3 separate regions of the Homo sapiens genome follow, and regions 1 and 3 are each linked to region 2. Evidence: promoter capture Hi-C in 16 types of primary human blood cells and fetal thymus (Javierre and others, 2016). All regions are on one chromosome and are shown on one strand. The core of a region is centred on a gene start or on the middle of the fragment in contact, and the rest is flanking DNA. Distances in the headings are between cores, read along the strand shown. Region 1 overlaps LOC112268263 (a long non-coding RNA gene). Region 2 holds the start of HOOK1 (hook microtubule tethering protein 1). Region 3 overlaps JUN (Jun proto-oncogene, AP-1 transcription factor subunit).

The links. Contacts are between HindIII fragments. The CHiCAGO score rates a contact against its expected background, and 5 or more counts as called.
Region 1: a fragment that was not itself captured here is called in contact with the fragment with the promoter of HOOK1 in region 2 in 7 of 17 cell types (naive CD4 T cells, naive CD8 T cells, non-activated CD4 T cells and 4 more); the score reaches 9.9 in naive CD4 T cells.
Region 3: a fragment that was not itself captured here is called in contact with the fragment with the promoter of HOOK1 in region 2 in 9 of 17 cell types (naive CD4 T cells, non-activated CD4 T cells, total CD4 T cells and 6 more); the score reaches 14.7 in naive CD4 T cells.

Annotation. Positions count from the first base shown.
Region 1 is chr1:58,756,818-58,761,714 of GRCh38, forward strand. It overlaps LOC112268263 (a long non-coding RNA gene), which reads left to right. Exons shown (of 9, transcript XR_007066129.1): 7 at 826-983; 8 at 1,462-1,488; 9 at 1,670-3,380. LOC105378751 (a long non-coding RNA gene) reads left to right here and starts at 4,196. Exons shown (of 4, transcript XR_007066137.1): 1 at 4,196-4,897. The HindIII fragment of the contact is 1,623 bases long and covers 1,621-3,243 here.
Region 2 is chr1:59,813,044-59,817,870 of GRCh38, forward strand. It overlaps HOOK1 (hook microtubule tethering protein 1), which reads left to right and starts at 1,906. Exons shown (of 22, transcript NM_015888.6): 1 at 1,906-2,137. The coding sequence starts at 2,075. It overlaps LOC105378758 (a long non-coding RNA gene), which reads right to left and starts at 1,823. Exons shown (of 5, transcript XR_947426.3): 1 at 1,719-1,823. RefSeq lists a silencer at 1,374-1,973 and an enhancer at 2,210-2,773. The HindIII fragment of the contact is 6,303 bases long and covers 1-3,478 here.
Region 3 is chr1:58,777,387-58,782,319 of GRCh38, forward strand. It overlaps JUN (Jun proto-oncogene, AP-1 transcription factor subunit), which reads right to left. Exons shown (of 1, transcript NM_002228.4): 1 at 3,405-4,933. The coding sequence ends at 4,689. Among named protein-coding and RNA genes, the nearest start is that of JUN, 4.2 kb to the right of the region's middle. RefSeq lists a silencer at 4,458-4,633 and an enhancer at 4,771-4,933. The HindIII fragment of the contact is 498 bases long and covers 1,629-2,126 here.

The DNA of each region.
Region 1 (4,897 bases), core at 1,182-3,681, 1.1 Mb before region 2:
AGTTTTCCTATCTGTAAAAAGGAGATAAGATTACTTATCTTAGATCTAGTGTGAGGATTAATTGAAACATTGCAAGTACAATACTCAGCATAAGGCTCAGAACACAGAACACATTCCATAAATGGTGCTATGATTGGTCCTGGGATATTGGCTCCTGGTCTGGTTGGCAGTGAAGGCAAGGAAAACATGTGTGTGGGATATGCTGACAGTTTAGGGGATGTCCTAGAGTTTCCCATAGTTGTCCCAGTCAGTTTGATCTTGGTATTATGCACTAGGCTGTGTACTGTTTGGCCCCAGTTAAGATTCCAGGTCTGAGAACATTTTTGAAGCCCCTAGATGGATGGGCTGAGGTGATGAAAGAGGTAACTTTGATATGAACTATGCCTCAATAAGTGGGTTCTGCAAACTGGGGAAGGCAGGGCTGAAGCTGACAGCTTTATAGTTCAAAGAGTGTTTTCCCAAATATGATTTAATTTAATTTAACCCTTATAGCTTGCATCACCAAAATTGTCCCCAAATGAAGAAACAAAGATCCTGAGAGGTTCCCTAAGTGGGAGTCAGTGCTGGTACAGGGTCCTGAACTTGGCAAGACTGCAAAACCATGCTCCACCTGTGTCGCAGCAAGGCTGTGGTGTCTGTCCCAATGCAGTAGTCAGTGAGGATCTGCTCTCTGCTCAGTCCTGTGGAGGAGGCTCATAGTGTTGACCCTGTTCCTGCCCTATATATATGTGTATAGTATAATAATAATAATTCTGGGGATGTAATACAGTTACTATTTGTTGAGCACTAACTGCTTAACATATGCCATCTTATTTTTTTTCACAGAAAAACACCATAAATAGGATTTCTGATGTCCATTTTATAGATGAAGAAGGAAGGTTTAGCAAGGCCATTCAAGGATACACAGCTAGAGGACGAGATGGAATTGAAGTCCCTTTGTCAGCATCCTTTTCATTCTTGATGCCATTTCATTTCCCCTCCTGGTATGTTTTGTTATGCAGTTAGCTTAGGCCTAATTTTATATAACCAATTATAAACTGTGAAATAGGATTCTGGTATGAATTTCCTATTCTTCTCCCACTAAGCAACTGATGAATCCCTTCGTGGTCAGATGTGACGAATGGGATTGTTTCTGTTCTACTATGGTTTGAATTTCTACCTTGATAATTACACAAAAACACTATCAACAAAGGTGGACGCCAGGTAAACACTGCTCCCTCCTAAATGCTTCTATGGCTGAGATCCATTCTCTTGCTCTTTTTCTCCTTTCTTCAAGAACAGATGTTCATATTCTTTGCCAATTTTTCTACTGAGTTATAAGAACACATTATATATTAAGAAAATTAGTCCTATTTATTTGTCTTATAGGTTAGAAATATTTACCTGTTGGTCAATGGTCTATCATCTGAATATATAGTATTTTTGGGGGCCTCTGCATAATAGTTCTGTATTATTTTTTAGGAAAGCCTTCCCACTCCAAGAGAAAAAGTAAGTTATTTATATATCCACATCTTATGGGTCTTTGACTTTCTATTCTCTTCCACTGAATTGTCTATTTCCCAATTTCAGTTGTTACAATATTTATAGCTTTATAATTTGAGCTAATATCTGCCATTTTAAAGCTTTTTTTCTGGCTTCTGTTGCATTTTTATGTCTTTATTTCTTTCAGCTATTATACAAATGATACAACCTGCTATGGAAAAAAGAGAAATAACAGATAAGTATACAAAGAAAATACAAGAAAAACATGAACAGTAATAATCTTATCCAAATGTTACTGAGATATTTTTGGAGTACTTAATTTCAATCTTTTTCCTATATGCAAACACACACAACTTTTCTCTAACAAAAATCAGATCATACTGTACTAGCAAACACCCTACCTGAAATCTGTATATCCATTGCCTATTGATTATGCCCATTGCTTAACATACTATGTTTTATTTAATCATTATTTAATTGTTGAGTATGCAAGTTATTTCTGAGTTTTCACTCAAGCTGTTTACGCTTATTTCTGTCTGGGTGTGAATGAATCTTTGGCACATTCCTCTAGCAAGTTGATCAACATCTGGTCTAAGATATTCTTCGGTGTTGGGTTTGTGCTGTCCACATCAGCTTAGCAATGTCTGCACAAAGACTCCTTCCCCCTCAAAAGTGCCATTCAGACTTGCTGTGGGTATAAGGGGAACAATCTCATTGAGGAGAAAGTTGTCATTGTGGTTGAGAACATGAACTTTGGAATTGGATAGAGCTGTGTGAATTTGGCCTAAACTCCGAGTCTGCTTCCACATCTGTAAAATGTAGACACAAATAGTTACTCATAAGGTTCTGGTGGGGATTAAATGTGGTTATACCTGTAAAGTCCTTAGCATTATGCCCAGCACATAGTGAAGATGTTCGATAAATGATAACTAAACAAACATTGTGTCCCCTCCCACTACAACCACACTGCTCTCCCTCACCTTACAGACTTTGCTGCTTGACAATCTTGGGGTGGGGCTGCTGAAAACTGAATCTCAATTTAGGAAGCCATGTTGTCCCAGGATTAGGGTTATTGGCCTCACATAAGAATCTCCAAATCTGCAGAATCTCAGGCCCCACCCAAAAACTATTCAATCAGAAACTACATTTTCAAAAGATATCCCAGATGATTTGTATGCATAGTAAAGTTTGAGAAGGTTTTAGTCCAGGTATTCAGGAAGTGATGCTGGTTGTGTATGGAGGACAGGGGCCCAGGAACTGATGAAATCTCTAGTTTGGAATTCTCGATAGCATTTGCATTCTTTTTTTTTTTTTTTATCTCAAATCCATCACTCAGTAGCAATGTGATCTTCACAAAGCTCCCTTTACTTTTACCACCATAGTGTTGTAGGAGAAGCTCTATCTTCCAAGTCAGACAGATCTGGGCTTCAATTCCAGCTTTGTTAACTGGAGGACTTATTATTAGCTGGGAGGACTTGCGACAAATCATACCAACTTTCTGAGCCCAGTTTCCTTCCCTGTAAAATGTAGATAATACACCTTTCTTGAGGTGTTACTAGAGATAACCAATGATAAAGTGTTTGGGAAATCTGGCATATCGTAGGGGTACAATGAGTAAGTGGTTTGACTCCAAAGACCTGAGTTTGGATCTCAGCTCCACAACTCACTTGGCTGATTGCTTTCTTTCCCTGGACTCAAGTTTCATCATCTGTAAAACTGGCATTTCAACCAAATAACTTCTGAAGTCTCTCCCTCCTTTAAAGCTTGATATTACAAGGGCAAATTTTAGTACAAATATCCAAATCCTAACGGTAACTCACAATTACAAAAGAGCTGAGTCTGTCATTCACCTGTCAAATTATCTAAACTGCGTCTCAGTCAGGAGATGTGAAAAGAAGGATGGATTTTCTATGAATGTTTTCTTTTTTTTTTTTGAGACGGAGTCTCGCTCTGTCGCCCAGGCTGGAGTGCAGTGGCGGGATCTCGGCTCACTGCAAGCTCCGCCTCCCGGGTTCACGCCATTCTCCTGCCTCAGCCTCCCAAGTAGCTGGGACTGCAGGCGCCCGCCACTACGCCCGGCTAATTTTTTGTATTTTTAGTAGAGACGGGGTTTCACCGTTTTAGCTGGGATGGTCTCGATCTCCTGACCTCGTGATCCGCCCGCCTCGGCCTCCCAAAGTGCTGGGATTACAGGCGTGAGCCACCGCGCCCGGCCGAATGTTTTCAATTTGATAGAAACAAGTGACTCAAGGAAAGTGTTGACAGTTATTAAATTGAGTTTCCATATAATAAGGGCATATAATAGGTGACAAATGACAGGTCCTGAGAGCTGCATTTTGAATATTTGGAGGATTTGGGGCACATATCTGGTATTGGAACTTCTCTGAATTGGATTAGAACGCCGCGTGGCTCACGCCTGTAATCCCAGCACTTTGGGAGGCTGAGGTGGGTGGATCACGAGGTCAGGAGATCGAGACCATCCTGGCTAACACAGTGAAACCCCGTCTTTACTAAAAATACACACTCAAAAAAAATTAGCCGGGCGTGGTTGCAGGTGCCTGTAGTCCCAGCTACTAGGGAGGCTGAGGCAGGAGAATGGCGTGAACCTCGGCGGCGGAGCTTGCAGTGAGCAGAGATCGCGCCACTGCACTCCAGCCTGGGCGACAGAGCGAGACTCCGTCTCCAAAAAAAAGAAAGGGGAAAAAAAAAAAAAAGAAAGCTGTCAAGACCATCCAGACCTGAAAATACCTGATAGGGGGATGGGAAACAAAAACATGACTTCTCACAGTAGATCCTTAATTGGTGATCGAAAATTGGTTTAAAAGTGTCCTAACTAATCTTTTTTGAAGGGAAAGTCAGAAATACATTCAAACTCACAGTGTGTACCTCTGAGAGACAGTGGCTCATTCAAGTATCACTTATCCATTTGGGTCTTCATTCATTCACTCATTCCCCAAATCCTAACTGAGTACGTACTATAAAACAGACACTTGCCAGGTATTGGGGGATGGAGGGTCTGAGTAGGGGTAAAGATTAATTAGGTAATAAAATCCAGATTTCTTTTAAAAACAATCAGAAAATCTCACAAGGCTGGACCCACATTCTCACACAATAATGATTGCTGGCGCTGAGTCACTGGGGACCTACTAGGTGAAGCAGGAATCCCTGAGTGCCTACAGCTCCCATCCCCAAAGCTACATCATTACAGCATTCCTTCATGTTACCTACCTGTCATTACCTATGGACGTCTGAATTCATGAATCTGAGCTCACGAATTCTCATTGAGAGAACCTTTCCAATGAAATACCCATCGGATGCCCTTTGCTGAGAGCCCGGAGTAGAACCAGTGCTAAATTTCTAAGAGAGAGACAAATACCTAAATAACTCTATTGCAAAATAAAAGGTATTATCAGAA
Region 2 (4,827 bases), core at 656-3,155:
TAAAGTCCAGAAGCATAACTTAATTGCCCCCCCCACCAAGTTACTCTCACGAATTATTTTATTTGAGAAATTTGGTCACTTGTGGCTCTCAGTGATAAATATGTTGAGAAGTTTCCCATATGTATAGATGATAATAGTAACTCATATTTACAAAGTTTATAATTTACATTTACCATGTATGTTTACATTTTAATTACAATGATCTTAGGAATGTGGAGGTTGGGGGCTATAGGAGAGCAGCCAGTGGGGAATAAAGTCAAGATTCAGACCAGGTCTTCAATTCCTAAATCTTGTAGTTTTAATTAAATCACATTACCAATGTACCTAGTTCCAGCATATAAAGTGACTCCAGAGGCGTTAAGAAAGTTCTGGAATAATGTTAAGGGAGTCAATAGCAAACGTACATACTGTATTTTTAGAATGAGACTGATTTACACTTGGGGGCTTTTAATTGCAGTCGTCCATCAGTTTTAAATTTTCAGTGTCTAAATATAAAAACGCAGCAATATAAAAAAAAGCCAGCTGTTTTCTTACTCAGAGCATGAATTGATGAGTTTATGAATGAGTGAAGTGACAGCAAGACTAAGAATAGTCTAGCCCTTTTCAATCACCTAAGCCATCTATCAATACCTTGGAGAGCTTCCAATTTCAGGTCACCTCCCCCGACCCCCCTCCACCCCACAACATTCTCGGAAAAAGCAAATTTTCAACTGACAAAGGAAAATGGATACATTAATATCTTCCATGTTTTTCAAAACATTTCGTTTATTTTGCTACTTGAAAACGGTCTTCCCTTTTGCCCCATGTAAAATAAAATTGCTCATGATCTATGGTCCCGTGAGAGCTTATTTAAGGAGCACTGACGGATTCTATTTTCCTTATTAATGTGGCATATTTGCCACGTGTGCAAATGAAAACATCCCTTTCCAATGAGTGCCTAGGAGGAAATCAGCTCTTCCTTCCTCGAAGAGTTTTAATTCATGGGTATGATCTATTTCTTTCTTTCTTTATTTTGTTTTATATATTTTTTAGAGACAGAGTCTCGGTTTTTTGTCCAGGCTGGGGTGCAGTGGCATGATCTCGGCTCACTGCAACCTGTGCCTCCCGGGTTCAAGCGATTCTTCTGCCTCAGCCTCCTGAGTAGCTGGGATTACAGTCATGTGCCACCACCCCCGGCTAATCTTTGTATTTTTAGTAGAGAATGGGTTTCGCCATCTTGGCCTGGCGGGTCTCGAACTCCTGACCTCAGGTGATCCACCCGCCTCAGCCTCCCAAAGTGCTAGGATTACAGGCGTGAGCCACCTCGCCCAGCCGGTAGGATCTATTTCTGAAGACAATGTGGAAGCAGAGTGTGGGCCCTCCACAGGTGTAGCGAGGCGGCGTGCTACCGCGAAGAAGGAGGGAAGACGCCTGAGCCCAGCCGGTGCCCTGCTGCCCCTCTGCCTCTTCGGCCACTGGGGCTGAGCTTCAGCCTTACCAATCCCCGCCGCGCACGCGCGCTCGCTTCCCGCGCGCAACCTCCCACCCCCGCCCTCACTGCACCTGCCAGGTCATAAACCTCTTCCCACCCACTCTCACTCTCTACCCAAGGCTCAGGCTTGTCTCACGTTGATTGGCCAGAGCCCACGAGGGCACGTCCAATCAGCAATCCCCCCTGCGCAACCTATCCCGGTTCTTCCCGCCCCCGCCCCGCCCCGCCCGCCCCCCCGGGTACCTACCGTCTCTGTGACTGGTGCGCGGCCAGGTCACTCAGGGCGGCGGGGCGAGGTGTGCGGGAGTGGGCAGGACGGGTGGGAGGAGGGGAGGGGTGGGAGAAGGCGGGGCTCAGGTGCCTGGCAGCGCGGCCGGGGCCCAGGAAGGGGAGGGGGCGAACGCTGGAGCGAGGCGGGGGCGGGTGAGGAGGGGGTGACGCCGGACGCGTCGACAGCGCGAGGGTTCGCGCGTGAGCTGCGCGGGTCGGGCCTGGTACCGAGCTTTCCTGGGGGCTAGCAGGTCGTGGACGCCGGCTCCTGGAGGAGAGCCGGTAGGAGGGAGTGTGAAGGTGTCCGCGGCGTCGTCGACGGCGGCGCCGGCCATGGAGGAGACGCAGCCGCCGCCGCAGCCTAAGCTGCCCCTGTGCGACAGCCTCATGATCTGGGTGAGTGCGAGGAGGCGAGAGGGCGAGGGGGCCAGGGGGCCGAGGCGAGGAGCCTGGGGCGCCCGGTTCTCCCAGGTGAGCTGGGGCTACCTGCACAGGGTCCCGGCGCACCCTGCCCTTCTCACCTCGTGCCCTTGACCGAGAGAATGCCACCTGCGGGTCGACGGGCAGGTGTGTGGGCGCGGGTTGGTGTCCGGGGGTGGGGGTAAAGGAAGCTCTGGGAGCGTAACAGTGGAGGCTCTGGTCTCAACCAGAGGATTCGACCTGCCTGGTGCCCTAACAGCTGGGATATGAACCAAGCACCCATCCTCTTTTCTCCCCGCTGCCCCATTTTCTCCCCCTGAACAGCGCCCGAGCCCTCCACTTTCTGGATCGCCGACTCTCTTGCCTTGGTCCGCTTGGGCGTGAAGACCCTTTCCGAAACCTAACCCTGCATCCTCAAACTACCTTGCTCTACCTGGACACAGGTGGCCAGGAGGTGGCTGGCTGTTTTAGTTCCCGGACCAATGCTCCTTCAGGACTCTAGAACATCCGATTTTGTAGAAGCCGCTTCAAAGAGATGTTTGTATTTCCCGTATGGAGAAAAAGATGTGTTGGGAGTCGGGGGTCGTTTTCCCTTTTTCTCGCTGGCCCTCTCCTCCTCTAAATGGACAGCATTTTCTTTAAAGAAAATGAGTTGACATTTTTCTTTAGGATTTATCTGTGTTTAGGATTTTTGTTAATTTGTGTTGGGTCTGGACAGGCATATCTGTCCCCAGATTGTTCAATATTCCAGTCAGCAAAATGACATCCCACCTCTTAGAGTTACTTAGATATCAGTGCTGGCATTCAGGTGTGGTTCTTAACCCATATTGAGTAAAGATGGTGTTTGATGAGCCACAAGGTGCTGTTGATGATGCTCATCCCAAACCAGTTGTTTAGTTGCGTCTAGGGGAGTGTGTGCAGATGGAATGTAAACAGACGGGATCAGGAGGCTGTAATCGGTTGAGATTCCCTAGTGATCTAATGCATCTAATTCCAAAGAATGAGAAATCTAGGTTTATGGAAATGTGTGAAGCCTATTGGAAATAGCCATAATTTAAAGCATTTACACTTTGTAAGTAAATAACTTTTGCTTTTAGTGGAATGCAAATATTTAGGGTTTGTGAGTTAAAAGCAATTAGCTAACTGTTCAGCTGAATTTTCATTTGAAATAGGTATTGGGGTGGAAGTGCTGTATTTAAGACTGTCGTAGAAACAAGGCAACATTACTTTTAATGATTTGTTTTGTTAAAACAGACTAATTAAAGGGTGTATCCGAATCTGCTACATTATTGTAAACCTCAATTGACTGAAGTGTTAAGCTTAGTCTTTATGATGTCATTGATTTACATGTGAGGTGGTGGAGAAGCACAGGATTTTCTTTTGTGTTGTAATATTTTAAAATATTATGTGACTGTATCCACTCTTTTAACCAGAATTTATTGACTTCCAATGTTGAGCTAGGCACTGGGGAGGACTGGAGTGGTAGCCAGAGCTGTGTGTAATTACAGTGGAAGGTAAAATTCCGTAAAAGCTGCAAATATGTTGTAAACCAAATGATAAGGAATCACAGATAACAGAGTAAAATTGGTCGTTTTCTTCAGTCCTCTCTTGGGCTGCTGAGCACTGTGGAGAAAATTGAATGACCGTGCAAACTGTTGCCTCTACTAATGCTGTTACTGTCAAACGCACCTTTTCTCCTAACATTGCCCATACTTAAGAATAACCAGACAGTTTCTCTCACATTCCTCTTAGCAAACCTTTATCAGTATTCTACCTGAGCCCCCAACTCTTATTCCTCTGGGGCAAATGACCACCTCCTTATCCTTGGCTCTGGCTTTAGACTCCATCCCTTCCACCTCTTTTAAAACGTTATTGTATCATTTGTTCCCTTTCTGTATTTACAACTACTTTCTCTCCATTGGCTCCTTTCTCTGTATGTATAAACTTGCTGAAGTATTCCCCTTTTTTAACAGAGAACAAAGAGCCACTATTCCGTGTTAAAGTCATACTGTATTTCCCCTTTCCTTCACAGTAAAATTTGAGTTGTTTTATTCTCACCCTTTATGCTTCACTCTCATTCAGTCTTCAACCCACTACCCTTGAGTTTCTTTCCTCTAAGACTTTCACTTCATTACCAGTTTGCTAAATCCACTAAGTGTTATATTACCATTTTCTTACTTGATGGTTCCTTTGTGAAATTATCTTGTCTTGGTTTCTGGTTATCTTGTCTGTTGCCTTTTCTTTACCTCTTTAGATGATTTCCAGTGAAGTTTACTGTCTTTTTTTTTTAATTAACTAATTATTTTTGCCTTTGCCAGCAACCGCACTGTTGATCTTACCTCACCTACCCAACTTTCTCCAAACTCACCTCAAGCAACAGTTCTTCAAGCCTATCATGCTGCATTGACTTTCTATTTGTTGAAGAAGCTAAGCTGTTTTAATGCATCAGGGATTTTTTTCCCTCTACCTAGAATATTCTCTTTCTAGTTCTTCCAGTGGTTGGCTGCTTCCGTCATTCAGGTCTTGGGTCAGATGTTGCTTTTCAGGGACTCTTTGTTACAACCATTTCTAAAGTTTGTCTCCCACCCTTATCCCACTGTAACCTGTTAACCTCTTTCTGTCTTATCTATAACACAGTACTTTCTAAAGTAATCCAGTTGGCTTTT
Region 3 (4,933 bases), core at 628-3,127, 1.0 Mb before region 2:
GAAGAAAGGTGGCATGATGTAGCCTGGACCAAGCCATCTTCTTCCCATTTGTCCCCCAACTGTAAGACTACTTTAAATACCACAGGCATTCTAAATAAAACTGAAAACCTATCTTTGGTATTTCACCCCTTACCTAGCTTCTTCTTCACCAATCCATCCTCCAAACTGTTGCCAGCATGAATCATTCTTAAGCTGAGGGTATTATGTCCCCACTCTGTTTCAAATTCACCTGCTTTCTCCGTCACCTATAGGATAACATGGAATGGATATTAAATCTCAACCCAAGCCTTCAACTTCCCTGCCTCTTCTCCCTTCAGTTTTCTTCTCGTATCTTTCTTCCGAGCTTCTCTAAGCAGCCTTCAGGTCCCTAAACACAAGACGTTTTCTCATACTTCTCTGCCTTTGCATGCACGTTTCTTTCCAATCTTTTCTGCCTGGTAAGGCCCACTGGATCAGCTCAAATGTCACCTCTCCCATAAAGCATTTTCTAATAATGTCTCCTTCTGCTCCCATCTGGCACCTTTTTCTTATAGCATATATCTTGTGCCTTTAGAATAGTTTCTATTTCATCTCCACATTCCACTCTACCAGAATGTGAGTTCCTTGAGAATAGGGATTATATTTTGCTCATCATTGAATCCCCACAGACAAGCAGAGGGCCTCAAAGAGACTCAGGACCAGAGGAATGCCCTGCTTTATGATGTTCAAAAGTCCAAAACCAAACAACTCAAGTTAGGTTCCAGAGTTAGGAAAGAATAGTTTTACATTCTGGGGCCATCCCAGCTGCTAACCCTCTTCCCCTCTTCTATGAGATCCTACTTGACCACCATAGAGGTGGGTGGAGGAGGCAAGGGACAATCAAACCAGAAGTCATGGCCTCTTTCCTTGGTTCATGAATGCACTTCTCTAGTAATGAAATGACATGGAGGAATAGATGGATTAGCATGATTCCTGTCTCAGCAAGCAAACATTGGGTACTAACTTCTGGACCCCTGAAATATGTCTAATTTTACTAACAGAAAGTCCCCTCTCTCATTACCAATAAAGCTGGTTGTTTTAAATGAAGACACATCTGGAACTGTTTTTGTGCCTGCCCAAGGACACACATAGGCTCCATTTCCACCTTCAAAACTAATGTTTCAGGCAGACCCATTTAATGTAAGAAGATGCTCACCTGCATTAGTGGAGGCAGGAAGGGACACTGTGTGTGGCTGGATGTATGAATGTGCTAACAGCTTAATTCTTTTAAGAACACTCACTAAGTACTGGGCTTTAGAACTTGAGGGTTGGCCAGGTTGACTTTGAGGGTTGATCCATCACGAGTTATGCACCTGGAAATGAATGAAGTATATTTACTAGAAGAAACTAAGACTTGGAATTATGTTGGAGGAGGGTTTGAGCTCACTTGTTCGTTCAGTCATCAAACATTTATTTTATGAACATCTACTATATGCCAGGCGCTACATTAAAAGTTTGGGAGTCCATTGATGAAGAAGATAGGGTTCTGACCAGGAGACACAGAGGTTCATAATACATTTTTGTATGTGCTATCATAGGATTTTTGATAAAATGTTATCATGCTCATTAGGGAATTATTCATTCCTTTTGAAGATGGAGTTACTAAGGGAAGCTTTACAGAGAAGGTGTCACTTACGCCAAGACTTGAAGAATGGGTAGGATTTATCAGTTGAACTAGAAGGAAAGGTATTCCAGGCAAATACATGCAAGCAGAAACATGAAGGGGTGAAAGAGCATGGGATTTAGATCCATACAATGATATGTTTCTGATAGTGGGCATGTAGCTGGTCAGTTCATGGTTTATTAACCCTTTTTTTTGAGTCATGGAACTCTGGGAGGGTCGAATAAAAGCAAAAATTTCTCTCCTCAGAAGAGTGTGTACAGACACACAAACACAACTTTCTGGGCATTTTCACTGAGTTCATGAACCCTCTGTCTTGATAGACAGAGAGGGTTAAATGTCCTTGATTGAATTATTTTATATATGTAACATATATATATGTGTAAAAAAAATTAAGAGGATTAATGACGATGTGTCACCAGCTTCATCTTCTCCAACTATTAGTGTTACCTTAATTCAAAGATTAACTCATTGAAGGCCCATAATAAGCTTAACCATTAAGTGTTTATAAGCAGTTAATCTTTTGTCTCCAAAATTTACCAGAGATCATGGGTTAATTTCCTCTACCACAATTACTTTTTTCTACCCCTTTTGGTTAGAATGGTTAGAATTTCAAGAATATACATTTAGAATGTTAATTGAAACAATCAAGCATGGGGATAGGCCTGAGTTTCAGACTTTTTTTTTTTTTAACACTGAAATCTAAAGCAAACTGGGGAGTGGTGTGGCTTTTCTGTGCTGTACTGTTGTCTGGGCTTAGTCTACCTTTGCAGGTAATTAATTCCCCAGCCTGCTTATTTTTTCTAGTTGGCTCTTGTTTAGCTTCCACAGAGCCCCACCCCAAAATGCTTTATTGTCCCTCTGCTATTTCTACATATGGTCAAAATCATCTCACCTTCCGGGTTGCTGACATCGGCAAATTCAGTTTGGCAAACTGGGCTCTGCTCCCAGTAACCCTTTGTTCAAGAAGTGTTATTACAAAGGATCCGAAGCTAACAAGCCTGTCCAATCTCTTCCACTCCTAGATATACTCCTAAGGAGAAACTCTTTGTGTATTTGGATTTACAGCCACAGGCAGGATATTAGCACTCCCAGACCTACTGGGTACTAGAACACTGCTAATGAGCAAACAGCCCTGACTCAATTAGTGGTTTGTGAAATATTCCTGGATATCAAATTGCTTTTGCTGCCTGATAATCACACTGGCTCTTGGTATGAAAAGCAACCAAGCAAAAAATTGTTCCCTTGTTAAGCACTGCCTTGTTGATCTCCTAAGTTATATCTGTAGGTAGAATTCAAGTTTCCCATTTCCCCAGAGCTGAGGTTTGATTTACGCATGTAATCATTGAGTTAGTACTAGTTCATGTTTTCTCTTGTGAATCTTTTCCATAGTATTAGATTACTATCTTTTGAGACTTATTCTATATTTAAACAAGGTTGATTATTTTAGAAACAAATTAAGAAATAAGCTACAGACAGACCCAAAATGCTAAACTGTTAGTTTCCATAGGCATAGGGGTTTATTTGGGGGTGAGGTAGTAGAGAGAGAGATAGAGATGGAGAAAGAGGGAAAGAATTAATGAAATTGGGAGACTGTTTCATTCAGATCACAACTTCTAGTTTGACTCTTCCTAAATTCTTTGCTTCTTAATTTTCAAATCACTTCAGATTGCAGCAATGTTAACCTCAGCAACTAAAAATAAAAACTTCAGTATATAACTTGGGAAGAAAAAAGTAGTAAAGGGAAGCAATTCAAGATCTGTTATTGGTATTTGAATACATTTATTGTGACAAGAATGCTGTTATAAATATTCATAAGCAAAGGCCATCTTTTTATCTAGGAATTGTCAAAGAGAAGATTCCAAATTGGAAGGATACATCTTTTGTAAAATCTGCCACCAATTCCTGCTTTGAGAATAAGCACCTATTGTAAAATTTCTACTAACATTATAAATGGTCACAGCACATGCCACTTGATACAATCCAAACTTTGAAATGTTTGACTTCTCAGTGGGCTGTCCCTCTCCACTGCAACCCCCCTTCCTCCAGCCTCCTGAAACATCGCACTATCCTTTGGTAAGCAATTCCATATAGATAGCTGGGGGAGGAGGAGTATAACCTGACCATAGCATCAGGTACATCAGGTACATTTATTTCTAAAGTCTAATAGAGAACAGTTTTTACTGCTTAATAGTAAGAAGCACTGAGAGTGATTTTAATCGACATTCTTAACTCTTTCAACTCCACCTAGATAGCTAGTATCTACAGATGATGCAGAAAAGAGGTTAGGGGAGTACTTTCCAATAGTTTATTGTATTTTCTTAAATATCCTTTCTGGAATTTTCAGAAACAAAACATAAAAAAATTATATACTTTATTACAAATGGTAAACTCAGAGTGCTCCAAATCTCTTATTTACAAACAACACTGGGCAGGATACCCAAACAAACAAACAAGAAATAACTTACAAAGGCATGAAGCTGTTTATTGACAGTAATCAGCTTTCATCAAATTAAAAAATATATATATGTACATACACAGTTAACGAAGGCAGGCCAGAAAGAGTTCATCTGTAGGCTCAGCCTCGCTCTCACAAACCTCCCTCCTGCCGCCCCTCCCCAACCCTCCCCCCGCTTTGTGTTCTTAAGGAGTACTACAGAAGCAATCTACAGTCTCTATTGCAGTTTGTAACCCCCTCCCCCTCCCCCCTTTAATACTGAATGAGATCGAATGTTAGGTCCATGCAGTTCTTGGTCAATGTTAACGAAAAGTCCAACGTTCCGTTCGCGCGGGGACAGCCCGTCCGCAAAGCGGGGCAGCCCGCAGGCGGCCGCTCCCTGGCTCCACGCCAAGGGAGGGCGCGCCAAGTCCTTCCCACTCGTGCACACTGGGGGCGCCGTCAGGACGCAACCCAGTCCAACTTGGATACCCTTGGCTTTAGTTCTCGGACACTTCTTTTTTCTCTCCGTCGCAACTTGTCAAGTTCTCAAGTCTGTCTCTCTGTGTTATTTTTTTTCTTCGTTGCCCCTCAGCCCCCGACGGTCTCTCTTCAAAATGTTTGCAACTGCTGCGTTAGCATGAGTTGGCACCCACTGTTAACGTGGTTCATGACTTTCTGTTTAAGCTGTGCCACCTGTTCCCTGAGCATGTTGGCCGTGGACGCCAGCTCCGAGTTCTGAGCTTTCAAGGTTTTCACTTTTTCCTCCAGCCGGGCGATTCTCTCCAGCTTCCTTTTTCGGCACTTGGAGGCAGCGATGCGGTTCCTCATGCGCTTCCTCTCCGCCTTGATCCGCT